2 separate regions of the Homo sapiens genome follow, and region 1 is linked to region 2. Evidence: promoter capture Hi-C in 16 types of primary human blood cells and fetal thymus (Javierre and others, 2016). All regions are on one chromosome and are shown on one strand. The core of a region is centred on a gene start or on the middle of the fragment in contact, and the rest is flanking DNA. Distances in the headings are between cores, read along the strand shown. Region 1 overlaps PALMD (palmdelphin). Region 2 holds the start of SNX7 (sorting nexin 7).

Region 1 (6,464 bases), core at 3,842-6,341, 1.0 Mb before region 2:
TTTTCTGCAACATACTGTATGTCTTTCTTTTTTCATCCCCTGTCCCACAGGGTGCTTACCTAATTTGCCTGTTAGAGACAGTCTACAAAGGAAAGCCTTTTGGTAGAAAACAAGAAGGTTCAAATCATTGCTTCAAGCAGCTCTTGCACATCAGGGCCTAGCTGTGGAATCAGGTGGACCTGGGTTTGAAACCTGGTTCATCTGCCAGCTTCCTGTGTGACCTTAGACAAGTCACCTGACCTCACTAAGACTCAGTGTTGGGCTGAGAGAAGTGGCTCATGCCTATAATCCAGCACTTTGGGAAGCTGAGGCAGGAAGATTGCTTGAGCCTAGGAGTTAGAGATGAGCCTGGACAACATAGTGAGACCTCAGTCTCTACAAATATTAAAAAAAATTAGCTGAGCATACACCTGTGGTCTCAGCTACATGGGAGGCTGAGGTGGGAGGATTGTTTGAGCCCGAGTGGTCGAGCTTGCAGTGAGCCATGATCATACCATTGCACTCCAGCCTGGGCAACAGAGTGAGATCTGGGCTAACAAACAAACAAACAAACAATAAAACTCATTGTCTTTATTCATTCATTCTTTTAAAAATATTTACTTAGCATCTACTTTGAACCAGGCACTCTTCTATGTGCTGGGGATCTTACAGTGACCAAAACAAAGTCCCTGAGCTCAAGGAGTTTATGTTCTAGTGGGAGACAATACAGGGGCTGGCAACCTTTTTCTATAAGGGGCCGGATGCCAAATATTTTAGGTTTTGCAGTCCACATATGCTTTCTGTTTCTTATTCATCTTTTTTCCCCTTTTTCTTTTACAGCCTTTTAATAATATAAAAACCATTTTTAGCTTGTGTCTGTACAAAATCAGGCCAGGGCTAGATTTGGTCCTGGGCCATAGTTTGTCAATCCCTGCATTAATAAATGTGTAATACAAATATGTATATATTGCAGATGTATGTACATACATATATATACACATAAACACATTTATTTATGAAGAAAAAATATTTTTGATGAGAAAAGCAGGATAGGGGCTGTAAACAGCAAGATAAAGAATATAGAGAAAGCCTGAGGAGGGGGCACTATTTCACACAGTGTGGTGAGGGAAGTTTCTCTGATAAAGTGTCATTTGAGCAGAGACATGAAGGAAGTGAGAGCGGGAAACATGAGGGTTTCAAAGGGAGTGTGCTCCAGAGAGATGGAAGAGTAACTATAGAGAGCGAAGGAAGAGCCAAGAGAGTAGAAAGGTGAAATGAAGTCAGAGAGGAGGCAGATGACCAGATAGGCAGGGCCTTGTGCATGGAAGGGCTTTGGGGAAGCCACTGGAATTTTGAACAGAGAGGAAACATGCTATGACTTGAAATGTAAACAGTTACACTGGCTGCTGTGTGGAAAATAGACTGGATGGGGCAAACATGGAGGTCAATTGTGCTAAAAATCTAGATGAAGATGGTGTAATCCAGGTTGGTTGCCAGTAGAAGGGTGAGAAGTGGTTGGATTCTAGAAATATTTGACAGAAAGAGCTGTCAGAATTTGTTGATGATTACATGCAGGGGATAAGAGAAAGGGAGATGTCAAGGTGATTCCACTGTTTGTGACCTGAATAATTGGAAACATGCAATACAATTGGCTGAAGAAATCTGGGAGAGAGAAGAAAGGGGATTTGTGGGGGATGTGTTAAATTTGAGACAATCAAGTGTGATATGGAGAAGACAGTTGGATATACAAGACTGGAGCTCAGAGAAGTCTGGGTTTGAAGATATACATTTGGGAGTTGGTATTTATCACCACAGGAGTGGATAAGTTTCCCTAGAAAGTGAAGGAGATAAGAATTCCAAGGCCTGAATCTGGAGCAATTCAACATTTAGAGATCTGGTCAATGTTAACAACTTCATAGGGTGTTCGTTTCTTTCTTTCTTTCTTTCTTTCTTTCTTTCTTTCTTTCTTTCTTTCTTTCTTTCTTTCTTTCTTTCTTTCTTTCTTTCTCTCTCTCTCTCTCTCTCTCTCTCTCTCTCTCTCTTTCTTTCTTTCTTTCTTTCTTTCTTTCTTTCTTTCCTTCTTTCTTTTTGGAGACAGAGTCTTGCTCTGTCACCCAGGCTGAAGTGTAGTGGTGCAATCTCGGCTCACTGTAACCTCTGCCTCCCAGGTTCGAGCGATTCTCCTGACTCAGCCTCCTGAGTAGCTGGGACTACAGGAGTGCACCACGACGCCTGGCTAATTTTTGTATTTTTAGTAGAGATGGGCTTTCACCATGTTGACCAGGCTGGTCTCAAACTCCTGACCTCAAGTGATCTGCTTGCCTCGGCCTCTCAAAGTGCTGGGATTACAGGCATGAGCCCGATGACTTCAGCTAGTTTCTTCCTGTCTCTGCCCCTTTCTTTTCCTGGGGCATAGAGACAAAGCTCCTGGTCTGCTTGGCCAATGACACCTTAGGGAATTTTGAAATGCACTGGTGTTTGTTGTTGTTTCTCTCTGAAGATAAAGCCGTGGGTAATGTAATGCCATATGATTCATCCCAAGAATCTCTTTAGACTAATATGGTAAGAATATGAGGTTGAAAGCCTGCAAACCTCATCAGCGTATCTGTTAATGAATATTTTTGAAGGTTTTCAAGTCACTGGATGAAAGTTGCATTAATAAGTCGCTGTGGTCTCACAATACATCATGACATGTTTGTGAAAACTAAACATAAACAAACACCTCCCTCCCATTCTTTATCCCTTAGTCACAGCCAACTCTGAGTTGAAAAGGATAACTAGGAAACATCTTGGTACTAATTACTTAGAATCACAAACCTCTAACAGGAGATGCCTACTGATGTAGAACATTTCCTAAAATTTCCACTTCAATGCAAAACTTGACTTCTTATTTTTGTATGTTGATTTGATACTTCAAATATTTATGGACAATATAAATATCAGATGAATGTTAGAGATTTGCTGCTCTAGAAAAGCTTTCTAAAAGATCAGAATGCTAATGGAAATGATGAGAGACTTAGAAAGCATAACTGAGAGTAAGGAACTGGATGCTCCCAGAACCCCCGCAACCTCCTCCACTTGGTCAGAAGTCAGCAGTAGCCCAGCAATGGAGAAGAGGAGGTTTGACAACCTGTACACCAGATAATGCACTGAGTTTTTGAGGACTGACTGTCCTTAAGGAGCATAAAACAAAAATTGCAACTAGTAGGCAGGGCAATTTTTGTGTATCTAGTACAGTGGTTCGTAACCAGAGGCGATTTTGTTCCCTGGGGATATTTGGCAAAGTCTGGAGACAGTTTTGCTTCTCATAACTTGGCGAGGGTGAGGGGTGCTGCTGACATCTAGTGGGTAGAGGCCAGGGATGGTGCTGAATGTCCTGTCATGCACAGAACAGTTTCCTCACAACAAAGAATGATTTAGCCCAAAGTGTCAATAGTGCTGAGGTTGAGGAATCCTGGATACCTAAAAGAATGCCTGGTATAGTGTAAGTTCTTGATAGGTACTTTATAAGGAATTTGTTTATATCCATTTCTTTTATATTTTTATTTTTTTCCTCATTATTCCTTCCCATTCCAAGATACATATACGTTTGTGTATCTGTTGTTTTTCCTTGTTCAATGACCATTCATAGTTAAGAGAATATTCGGCCCTGATTTAAAGCTTAAACAATGCAAGACTTAAATTAGGGACTCATTCCTAATCCCTTCCCAAAGGTAGTTTTGGGGAAGAGAAAAAATTTGGCAAGTATAAATGAAGTATTGGGAAAATATATAGGATGGAATTTGAAATCAGATATTTACTTACAGAGTCTGAACTCTTACTCCTCTCCAATTAGCCACTATAGAAAAAATATATATATTCCTTAGGGTTATTTTGTTGTACTGGGGATTTTTCTGCTCAGCGGGTTAGTCCATCTAACAAGGATTAAAGTCCGGGCTCTATACATATATATATATACATACACACACACACACACACACACACACACACATATATACACACACATATATGTATATATATAGTCTATTTGCTGGGGAAAAAGAGGGTTATTTTCAAGAGCTCCTTGGGTAAAAGCAGGTAGCTTTCATTTCATGAACTGTTGCAGGAATAACCTCCCTTAATCATCATGAGATAATGTCTCCAATCCAATTCCAACATGCAATTTTTTGTCTTGGAAAAAAGGACAGCACATAAATGCTGGATGCATCAGGAAGAGGTTTTCCAGAAGGCAATATATATATATATGCATATATATACACACATATACACATACATGTATGCATGTACATAGATATACACACATATATGTGTATGTATGTGTGTTTATGTGTGGGTGTATATACATATATATGTAAAATTAAAATTTTTTCAAATGGAGAGCTTTTGGGGAGGTTACTGTGGGGTAACTCTCTAACTTTCACATGCCTATCTTTCAGCTGATGGGTTAGAATTTCCATAAGTGCTGCCGTCCCCATCTTTAGAAGGTATTACCTTTCAGAATGGGAATTGAGCTCCTTGAAATGCTGATTCAGTTTGGTGAGGAACAGGCAGCAGAGAAAGAGAAATATCCTCCTTGGTGCCTCCCAGGCTGTTAGGTGGGGCTTGATGGATGAGTCAGTACCTCTCACAATTTCTGAGAGATGGTGGGCAGGCATCATGTGCCAATTTAGATAAGCAGAGTACATGAAAAAGGATTTGTAATGCTATCCATTATTGGAATCTTGCTTTTCCTTGCCTATTCACTGGGGAAAAAGAGGGTTATTTTCAAGAGCTCCCTGGGTAAAAGCAGGTAGCTTTCATTTCATGAACTGTTGTAGTAATAACCTCCCTTAATCATCACGAGATAATGTCTCCAATCCAATTCCAACATGCAATTTTTTGTCTTGGAAAAAAGGACAGCACATAAATGCTGGATGCATCAGGAAGAGGTTATTTCAGAAGGCAATTTTTCTGCTGCTAAGGGTCCATTTATCTCTCTCAGCTTTTGGTGGAGTTAACAAGGACTCACAACCTGATAGAGTTTGCCATTAGGGGCCAAACAGATTGGAACTCATGAGGGGAAAAACCACACAAACCAAAATTCAAAAGTCATCATCCTACCTTTCAGTACTTCATGTGTTAGCATTTATAACATTTAACACATATTGCATATTTCCATTGCACCAGGCACTGGCCTATTTCGTCCTTACAGCAACCCCCATGAGCACTGTTGTTAGTTCCAATTGACAGATGAGCAAGCTGGGCACCTAGAAAGGCAACCGGCCCAGAGTCTCACAGGCAGCCTGAGGCAGGATGGAATTTGAAATCAGATCTTTACTTACAGAGTCTGAACTCTTAACTCCTCTCCAATTAGCCACTGTAGAAAGAAAACTTAAAAAAATTGATTCTTAGGAGCTTAGACACAACATTCATTTAGCTCAGCAGTATTAAGGGATTTTTTACTTTCTATGATAATGAAGGAAGTGAAGATTGAAATGATAGCTGGGGCCCACGAGTGTGTAAACGTGTTGACCCATTATATACAAAGGTAATATTTCTGTCCTAATCTTCGTTAGGGTTATTTTTCTGTACTGGGGATTTTTCTGCTCAGTGGGTTAGTCCATCTAACAAGGATTGAAGTCCGGGCTTTATCTTTTTTTTTCCTTTTGGCTGCTTGACTTTGGTTCTGGTAGGAGTTCTTAGAACGGTCTCCTTCAAAGAATCTGGGGTTTCCTAAGCTAATGCCACTTTATAGCAAGACTTTCTTTGCTTCCACACAAGACTGTGTTGTTTAAAGTAATTAAAGCAGTAGGTCTTAAATATAAAGCTGGCTAATGCAATTTGATTGTATTACTGCAGTTTCAATGTAACTACCAATGCTAGGTATGAAATTAAGTTTATGACTGGCTCTTATCTATACTTTGAAGGGACTGATGAATTACTTGCGTTTCAGTAGCCCAAACTCTCTTATTAAAAGCCAGGACTACACCTAAAGAGAGGGTCCAATGGCTATTTCTCTGGGATGGCCTGAGTCAGCAGGTGTTATGCCACTACTGATGTGCCTCTGAGGCCGGTCGATGGAAGTGCTAGGACCAAACCCCCACCCCCAACATTCCCCAAGCTAGATAAAGAAGGATTTTTTTTTTTTTTTAAGAGTCAAGGTATCCCTGTATTGCCCAGGCTTGTCTTTAACTCCTGGGCTCAAGAGATCCTCCCGCCTTGCCTTGGCCTCCCTAAAAGCTGGGATTACAGGTGTGAGCCACCATGTCCAGCTGGATCCAGTTTCTTTTGGGACTCACAGGCTCTCAGAGTGTCTTTGCCTCTGATAAGTATTGAATTCTGCCTAGAGTGGTGAGCAATTCTAGCTTGATTCTCCCCTAGAGATTCTCTTCCCTTTCTTCCCCACTAAATCTTGGGAGAACAGGAAACAGCTGGTGGTTTACCTATATTTTGTGAGTTTTTTTGTGAAAGCCCACTTTCTCAGGGGAAAAAAAGACTTTTTACAG
Region 2 (7,010 bases), core at 2,395-4,894:
ACCTTCCAGAACTCCCATTTTGCCCATTATTTTTAAAAACAATATTTACCTATCTCTAGTTTCAGGGAACCATTATTGCATTTCATGATTTCTCAAAGATGACTAGTGGTGATGAGGATGATTACACCTGTAAGTTCCCTGATTATCCTAGATGATATATATCTCACTTTTATGATCCCGAATATCTTTAAAGAGGCCAATTAGAGCTATCATTTACTGAGTACCAGATAAGCATCTCAGTGCTTCATTGTGGCCTAATCACATACACTGTATCCACAGCTGTTTCTTTTATACAGTATTCAATAAAAATAAAGGCAATTTATTTTAATTTATTGTTTTTCCCCAAAGAGGAGGATTTTTTCCTTTAAACGTGAAGAAACTGGCCCTTTTTCTCCAGTTAAATTTTTTGGAAGCCTCATCTCATTGTGACCTAGTTCTAAAATAATTCTTAGGCTCTTGTTACCATTTGTGTATCTTTTTTATTTTTTTATTTTTACTGTTTTTGTATGATTGGTTCTGTTCTCTTCCTTCTAACATCTATCCCCGTTCTTTTAAATCAATGTCCTCTGCATTCTCTTGAGGTCTGGCATCATTTTCTTCTCACTGGATTATAAGAAAATTCAGAACAACTTTGTTTTACTTTCCATCCCTCTTGATTTATATTGCCATTTAGAGTTTGTCACATCTTCCCACCTGGAGTATAAGATTGTGATAGCAAGAACTAAATCTTGTATTTCTTTTTTTTAAAGCATACTTAACACAAAATGTATATTTGCCATGTACTTGTAATACGTTGTGGAAAAAAAATAATAAGAAGTTGTTTTGTTTTTCTTTTGAGACAGAGTCTCACTCCGTCACTCAGGTGGGAATGCAGTGGCGTGATCTCTCAGCCCACTGCAACCTCTGCATCCCGGGTTCAAGAGATTCTCCTGCCTCAGCTTCCCGGTTAGCTAGGATTAAAGGCTCCCACCACCACACCCGGCTAATTTTTATATTTTTAGTAAAGATGGGGTTTCACTATGTTGGCCAGGCTGGTTGTGAACTCCTGACTTCAAGTGATCCGCTAGCCTCAGCCTCCCAAAGTGCTGGGGAAATTCATACTCTTTAAAAAGCTTCTGGAAGAGTATACCAGACACATATTCACAAATAATCTAAGAGAATAAGGGGACTATAAAGGTGAATGTAAATTAAATATGTAGTTTGCCAATCTCAAATTACTAAAAGGGAAGGACAGTTTGCTTCATAAGTAATTGTGAGATTCCATCCTAGGATAGGCTGAACAGCAGTGGTGTTTGTTTTATAGAGGAGCAGGCAAGGAAGGTAGTGGAAAGGGAAGGCCACGTGGAGCAGGCTTTCTTAAATTTGCTTAACTACAGATAACGGTTGAGAAATTCAACTTACTGAAATGGATGAAAGTGGCTAATTTTAAACTTTTCCAACTACTCTTGTTGGATTTTCACTAATATTATATCTTTGCCTTAATCTATGTGGGCAGTTTCTACAGAAGTTGTTCTTAACTTTTTCTAAGCATCCAACACGCGCAGTTAACACTAACAAGCAGGGTGGACCCAGGTGTACGGGCTTTTAGAGTTTGGAAGGTCCCCTTTTAAAAGAATACAAAATTAGGTGGAAAAACACATTATTCAGAATGAGAAAAGAAATCTCAATAAATGATTGGAGCCATGGAGATCTAGATTCCTTAGTCTGAGAGAGCTTTAGGCAATTCACCAGAAATGCTTATTTAGAAATGCTTCTGGTCGGGACCTGTCATTTCCTTCCCACCTAGAACATCTGCGACTCCAGCAACCCCCAACACGCCCAGAGGTCTAAGCAAACGAATAGCGCTGAAGCTTCAATTTCATTAGCTTCACCTTGGATCTGCCTCTGACAAGAGGACCTCATTTAAACATTGATTCTTAAGAGTCAGCTAGAACACCTAGAATCTGGGGAAAGAGAAACCACTTGACAAGTTTAAAACAATCCGAGTCACTGTGGCTCAAGCCTGTAATCCCAAACCCTTTGGGTGCTGGAGGTGGTAGAATCCCTTGAGGCCAGATGGGTCCAGCCCCGACAAAAAAAAAAAAAAAAAAAAAAAAAAAAAAAAAAAAAAACCAGAAAGAAACCCTGATGATTCTGATACACCATTGCTATTTCCAACATCCCATCCCAAAGTTTCACAATGCATAACCATAGACTAATATTCCTTATCCAAACAGCAATGTAAAGAAGGAAAGAAAGTAAATAACCAACTGGCCAACTGTCGTTGATCTGAACATGAAGTATGTGTGGAATATAAAAAGGCAGAGTTTACAACTAAACATAAAATAATTCCATTGTTTTACTACTTAACAGAAAAGTCAAGAGCACAAAACTGTGATAGTCTGTTTAAATATTCGGAATACAAACCTGGGCCTATCATTCCATTTAAACCGAAGTAGAAATAAGTTTTATATACTCCTCTTTGGAGTCAGAGTATGCATGGTCACTTCCTAACTTTGGTTTGCTCTCCCAGAGTAAATGCGGTGGTTAAGTAGGTCGTTTGCTTTACCTAATATCTCCAGGTAACGTTAAAATGAACAGGCTTCTTAGTAATGAATACAGCGTTGTGATCTGAACTCAGGTCTTCTCTCAGCAGCAACTTGAGAAACTGGAGTGACATTCAACCTCCCTGCAAGAAAGGTATTTTTCTTTTCTAAAACCCTTTAAGAAATTACAAACACCAGTCTACACGTACCAAAAGTCTACCACTAGCCCCCACAAGTCAATTTCCCTCCAACAGTAAAATAAGCAAATAAGAGCCTTTGGTCCTAAATTTCCCGGGGGCAAGGAAAAACGAAAGCACTGGCTGTGGGTTGGGTGGCAGTAGCTGACCATCTGAAAAATCCTTAGCTCCTCAGCGGAGGAGCTTCCTGTTAGAAACAACCGTTTTCTCCTGTTCAGGGAGATTTCCTAGAACCTATTCCCACAAGACCCGAGACTCACCCAAGTCTCAAATCCACAAGCAACAACACTAAATTAAGAATAATTTCTCTAAACTTGGCTGCTCTCCCAGAGTTCAGGGCTGGCCTCGCCCGAAAAGCAGCTGGCGGGAGCGGTTTTGAGCCACCAGCCTCCCAGGTTCGGGAGCTGCCGCGAGGAAGATGTCTGTGTCAGAGAAGCAGAAAGGGAAAACAAATCACAACTTTGCAGACTCCACTAAGCCACAGCCCCGCCGAACGGAAGGTCAAAGTGCGGAGGAGGGAGCGGCTGCGGTTTGAGGCCCCGAGGCGACGCGGCCCCGGGTGCGGCCAGAGCTGGCAGGCGGGGTCCAGCAGCCCGGGGGACCTCACTCGTCCCCAGCTCAGAGCCACCGCCCCGGGAGGGCAAGCGCGCCAGAGGCAGCCGTCGGCGCAATGCTGGCAACGCCCGGAGTTGCCTTGGAAGTTTCCCGGGACTCGCCGCCGCCGCCCTCACCTTGCTGAACACCTCCAGGTCGTCCTCGTCCTCGTCCAGATCCAGCACCTCCGCCTGCAGCAGGGCGGAAGAGCCACTGCTGCCCGGAAAGGGGGCGCCGCCCCCCGGGCTCTCCCCGTTGGCGCCCCCGGCCGGGAGGCCCGAGGAGGGCGCCTGCGATGCCCGGCGCTCGCCCTCCATCCCGAGAGTGCGCGCCCAGCCGGCCGCCACCGCCGCCGCCAGCCCGGCTCCCCCGAGCGTGCCCATTGGCTCCCACGTCTCCTGCACCTCCCCGGCCGGCCCCGCTCCAGCCCCTCGCCCGCTGCGCAGACGCGGAACTGCCGGGACCAGCGCTGGCCCGGGCCGGGCGCATCCCCACCTGGCCTGGGGCGGGCTGGAGGGGCGGAACTGGGACTCTCGGACTCCGGCTACGTTGGAGAAAGGGTTGGCTGTACCCTGGAGAAGAGGAGAGACTCAAAGGTAGGAGGTGGGCGTCCTCGCATTGACCCAGTCGGGGGCCACCGAGTGACGGTTTCCGCAGTGGCGGGGTCTGGGAAGAAGCCACGAAGCGAACCGTCCACTTCGCGGGATCCACAGCGAGGCTGGAAGGCACCCGACCCAGCCTTGCCAAGAGAAAAAAAAAAAACAGCAATAACAATACTGTATTTCCTGTATTCAGTGGTTGCCTTTCTTCTTGGTTGTGATTTTCGAGCTAATGTAAAAATAAAGACATGAAAACTTCCCGTTTTGTTAATTGATTTTTGACCCAGTGACTGGCCTGTGCGGTCATTTCACTGTCGAGCCAGGAAAGCTGAGCTTTACAAACTATTTTCAGCCACTTTCAAATGCATCTTTACTCCTGGACGTCTTCCTGAAGTTAATGAGCAGAATGTTACCAAGACCCAAGGACAACTAGCAAGTCTGGAAAATTGCCACCGAGAAATAATCTTCAGTCCTTGCATTGCCAAGGCAAAGCTTTAATTATTTAACTGCTTATTATTCAAAAACAAAACTAAGTTCCAAAACTAATGGAAAATTTTGCCCACGTTGATATATTCTTTAATTTATCTTCAGGTTTTATTTACTTCCGTCAGCCCCACCTCTTTTCTGTAGGCCCATTTAAAAATTTTTAAATACATTAAGCTCTATGTAAGAATTCCTTATTTGGGGAAATAGAGAATATCTTTATTTCTGATTAGAGGCAAGGCCTTAATAATATATTATCTCCTAATCATTCAAATGTATTCCCATTGATTTCAGACGTGCACCCACCCTTCAGTCAGGTTGGTCACTGCCCCATGAGTATCCACATTTGTTTCTGTGCTTGATGATTTCTGTACTTTAAATGCCATCTCCTGCCCATCCTTCAGAAATTAAATATAGTCCCATCTCTTTCAGAAAGACTTTCTAAATGACAGTCTGTTCTCAATTTAGCATTTAATTTTATTCCATCTTGCAGATTGTATTTGTTTCATGTACAAGTTTTCCATTCCTTAGTAAATGATAACATTTTCAGGTTGAGGATCCTGATATGTATTAACCACAGTATCAGATGTACTCTCAAAATGCTCTCTGCTAATTTCTGTAAATAATATAAGTTATTAAAAGACTTTATTTTTTCCTTGATAAGCTTATTCTGACTAGTAAGGAAGATTCAAGGTTTTCTAATTGCAATCTGAACCAGGAAATTCTTAATAATGCTGTAACTCACAGAATTGCTAGAAACCATAGAGAATGGGCTCAGAAAATGGGCAGAATAAAGCAAGGCTGCACAGCTTGGATTATAGCCAAAAGCAAGGCCACAGAACCAGTGGTACAGACATTGCTGCTACCATTGCCTGATACTGGTTGCCACACCATCTTCACCAGTGTCAATATTGTCATTAACACTGATGTTACTGGACTCCAGTTGCTTTCCCTGGCAGCAGTACCACAGCTACCTCTGAGAACTTCCCTGCTATTACTGCCACAAAAATGTCTCCATCACCCTGTTTCTCTGTGTTGATTTTTCTAGTATTAAAACCCTGGAGAGTATGTGTGCTTGGCCAATCTGGCCAAGTTTCATGGAAATTCCTAAGGCAGAGAATTTTCTAAACATAGAAAGGCCATATTGATGCTTGTCAACCAAAAACAAGAAAAATAGGAAGAGGGGTAGGATGAGGAAGAAGAGTAGGGAAAACGTGACTATAATTTGCCCCTTTGGCTGTCCAATTAATATTACCTTTCTTCACATACTCCCCCTACCTCCATGCTTTGAGCACCTGAGCATGCAGTTCACAGCCCCTCAAAGGGAGATAATCCCAAACCTACTCATTATTAGTACAACTCCAAAGCAGTATGTCTATTCCTCCTGTAGTCTCAGCTTCCTATTAAGTGGGACTATCACTGGGTTTTTTTGTTTGTTTGTTTGTTTGTTTTTGAGACAGAGTCTCACTCCCTCGCCGAGGCTAGAGTGCAGTGGCGTGATCTCTGCTCACTGCAACCTCCGCCTCCCGGGTTCAAGCGATTCTCCTGCCTCAGCCTCCTGAGTAGGTGGGACTACAGGCGTGCGCCACCACGCCCAGCTAATTTTTTGTATTTTTAGTAGAGACAGGGTTTCACCATGTTGGCCAGAATGGTCTCGATCTCTTGACTGCATGATCCACCCGCCTCGGCCTCCCAAAGTGCTGGGATTACAGGCTTAAGCCACCGTGCCCAGCCTATCACTAGGTTTTTTAATGGAAGAATTCTTACTTGGGTACTAAAGCCTTTAAACCAGCATAGTCCAAAACTTGGAGTGCAAGTATAATATTAAGAGCAGCCCTACCCACTCCTGTCCTGTTTAAGAGAAATAATATCATACATTAATTTATGGTTTCATGAATATACATCTTGTCAAAAAGCTTTCTCTCCCTTATACTTTCCAGATGGGATCTCTTCAGACCATAACTGGATCTTTAATATTCAATTCCACCATCTATGAAGTCTGCTGTTTCTAGTAATGGGTTTTGTGATGAGACAAGTTACCCCATGGGCATTGCCCAAAGGCTTTACTTCTTTTGCTAGAAAGTGATTTAACTAGTTAGAAAAAAATATAATGTGCAAAATCTACTGAGGAATAGACCAGTCAATAAGTTCATGGACGAGCGTGTTGAGGGAAATCTGATGAGCAGAAAAAGCAAAGCCAATTTGACTTTTCCACTAAAGACAAATCATGGCATCCTCCAGTGTGGCAGGGTAAGGGTCCTGCATAGTTGCTGTGGCAAGCTGAGTGCTGAGCAATGGAAGCAGCCAATTATCCTTTAGTGAGAGGAAATCCTTATTTTTGAGCCAATGCATAGCATAAATCCCTGCCACCATGGCCACATGGTATGTGAAGCCATAGAACAAGCACTGGAGTTTCTAGAAAAGCAGTAAGATTAACATCCACAGGAGAATAAGCATTATTTTCAAACTTATTTCTGATGACATAAATTCATCAAATGAAAAGGCTTTTTTGGAGAGCATTGTTGTGGGCTACATACAAATATGCTTTTATTCTGGGGCCATTCCAAGAAAGTCACCTACATACATTTTCTCAAACCTTCTTGACCCCGAGA

What was found. Contacts are between HindIII fragments. The CHiCAGO score rates a contact against its expected background, and 5 or more counts as called.
Region 1: a fragment that was not itself captured here is called in contact with the fragment with the promoter of SNX7 in region 2 in 1 of 17 cell types (neutrophils); the score reaches 5.3 in neutrophils.

Annotation. Positions count from the first base shown.
Region 1 is chr1:99,678,612-99,685,075 of GRCh38, reverse strand. The region is part of intron 3 of PALMD (palmdelphin); the gene reads right to left. Among named protein-coding and RNA genes, the nearest start is that of PALMD, 36 kb to the right of the region's middle. The HindIII fragment of the contact is 2,899 bases long and covers 3,642-6,464 here.
Region 2 is chr1:98,658,355-98,665,364 of GRCh38, reverse strand. It overlaps SNX7 (sorting nexin 7), which reads right to left and starts at 3,644. Exons shown (of 9, transcript NM_015976.5): 1 at 3,454-3,644. The coding sequence starts at 3,633. SNX7-DT (SNX7 divergent transcript) reads left to right here and starts at 4,593. Exons shown (of 1, transcript NR_189290.1): 1 at 4,593-5,058. RefSeq lists silencers at 3,263-3,332, 3,563-3,682, 3,703-3,842. The HindIII fragment of the contact is 2,557 bases long and covers 1,853-4,409 here.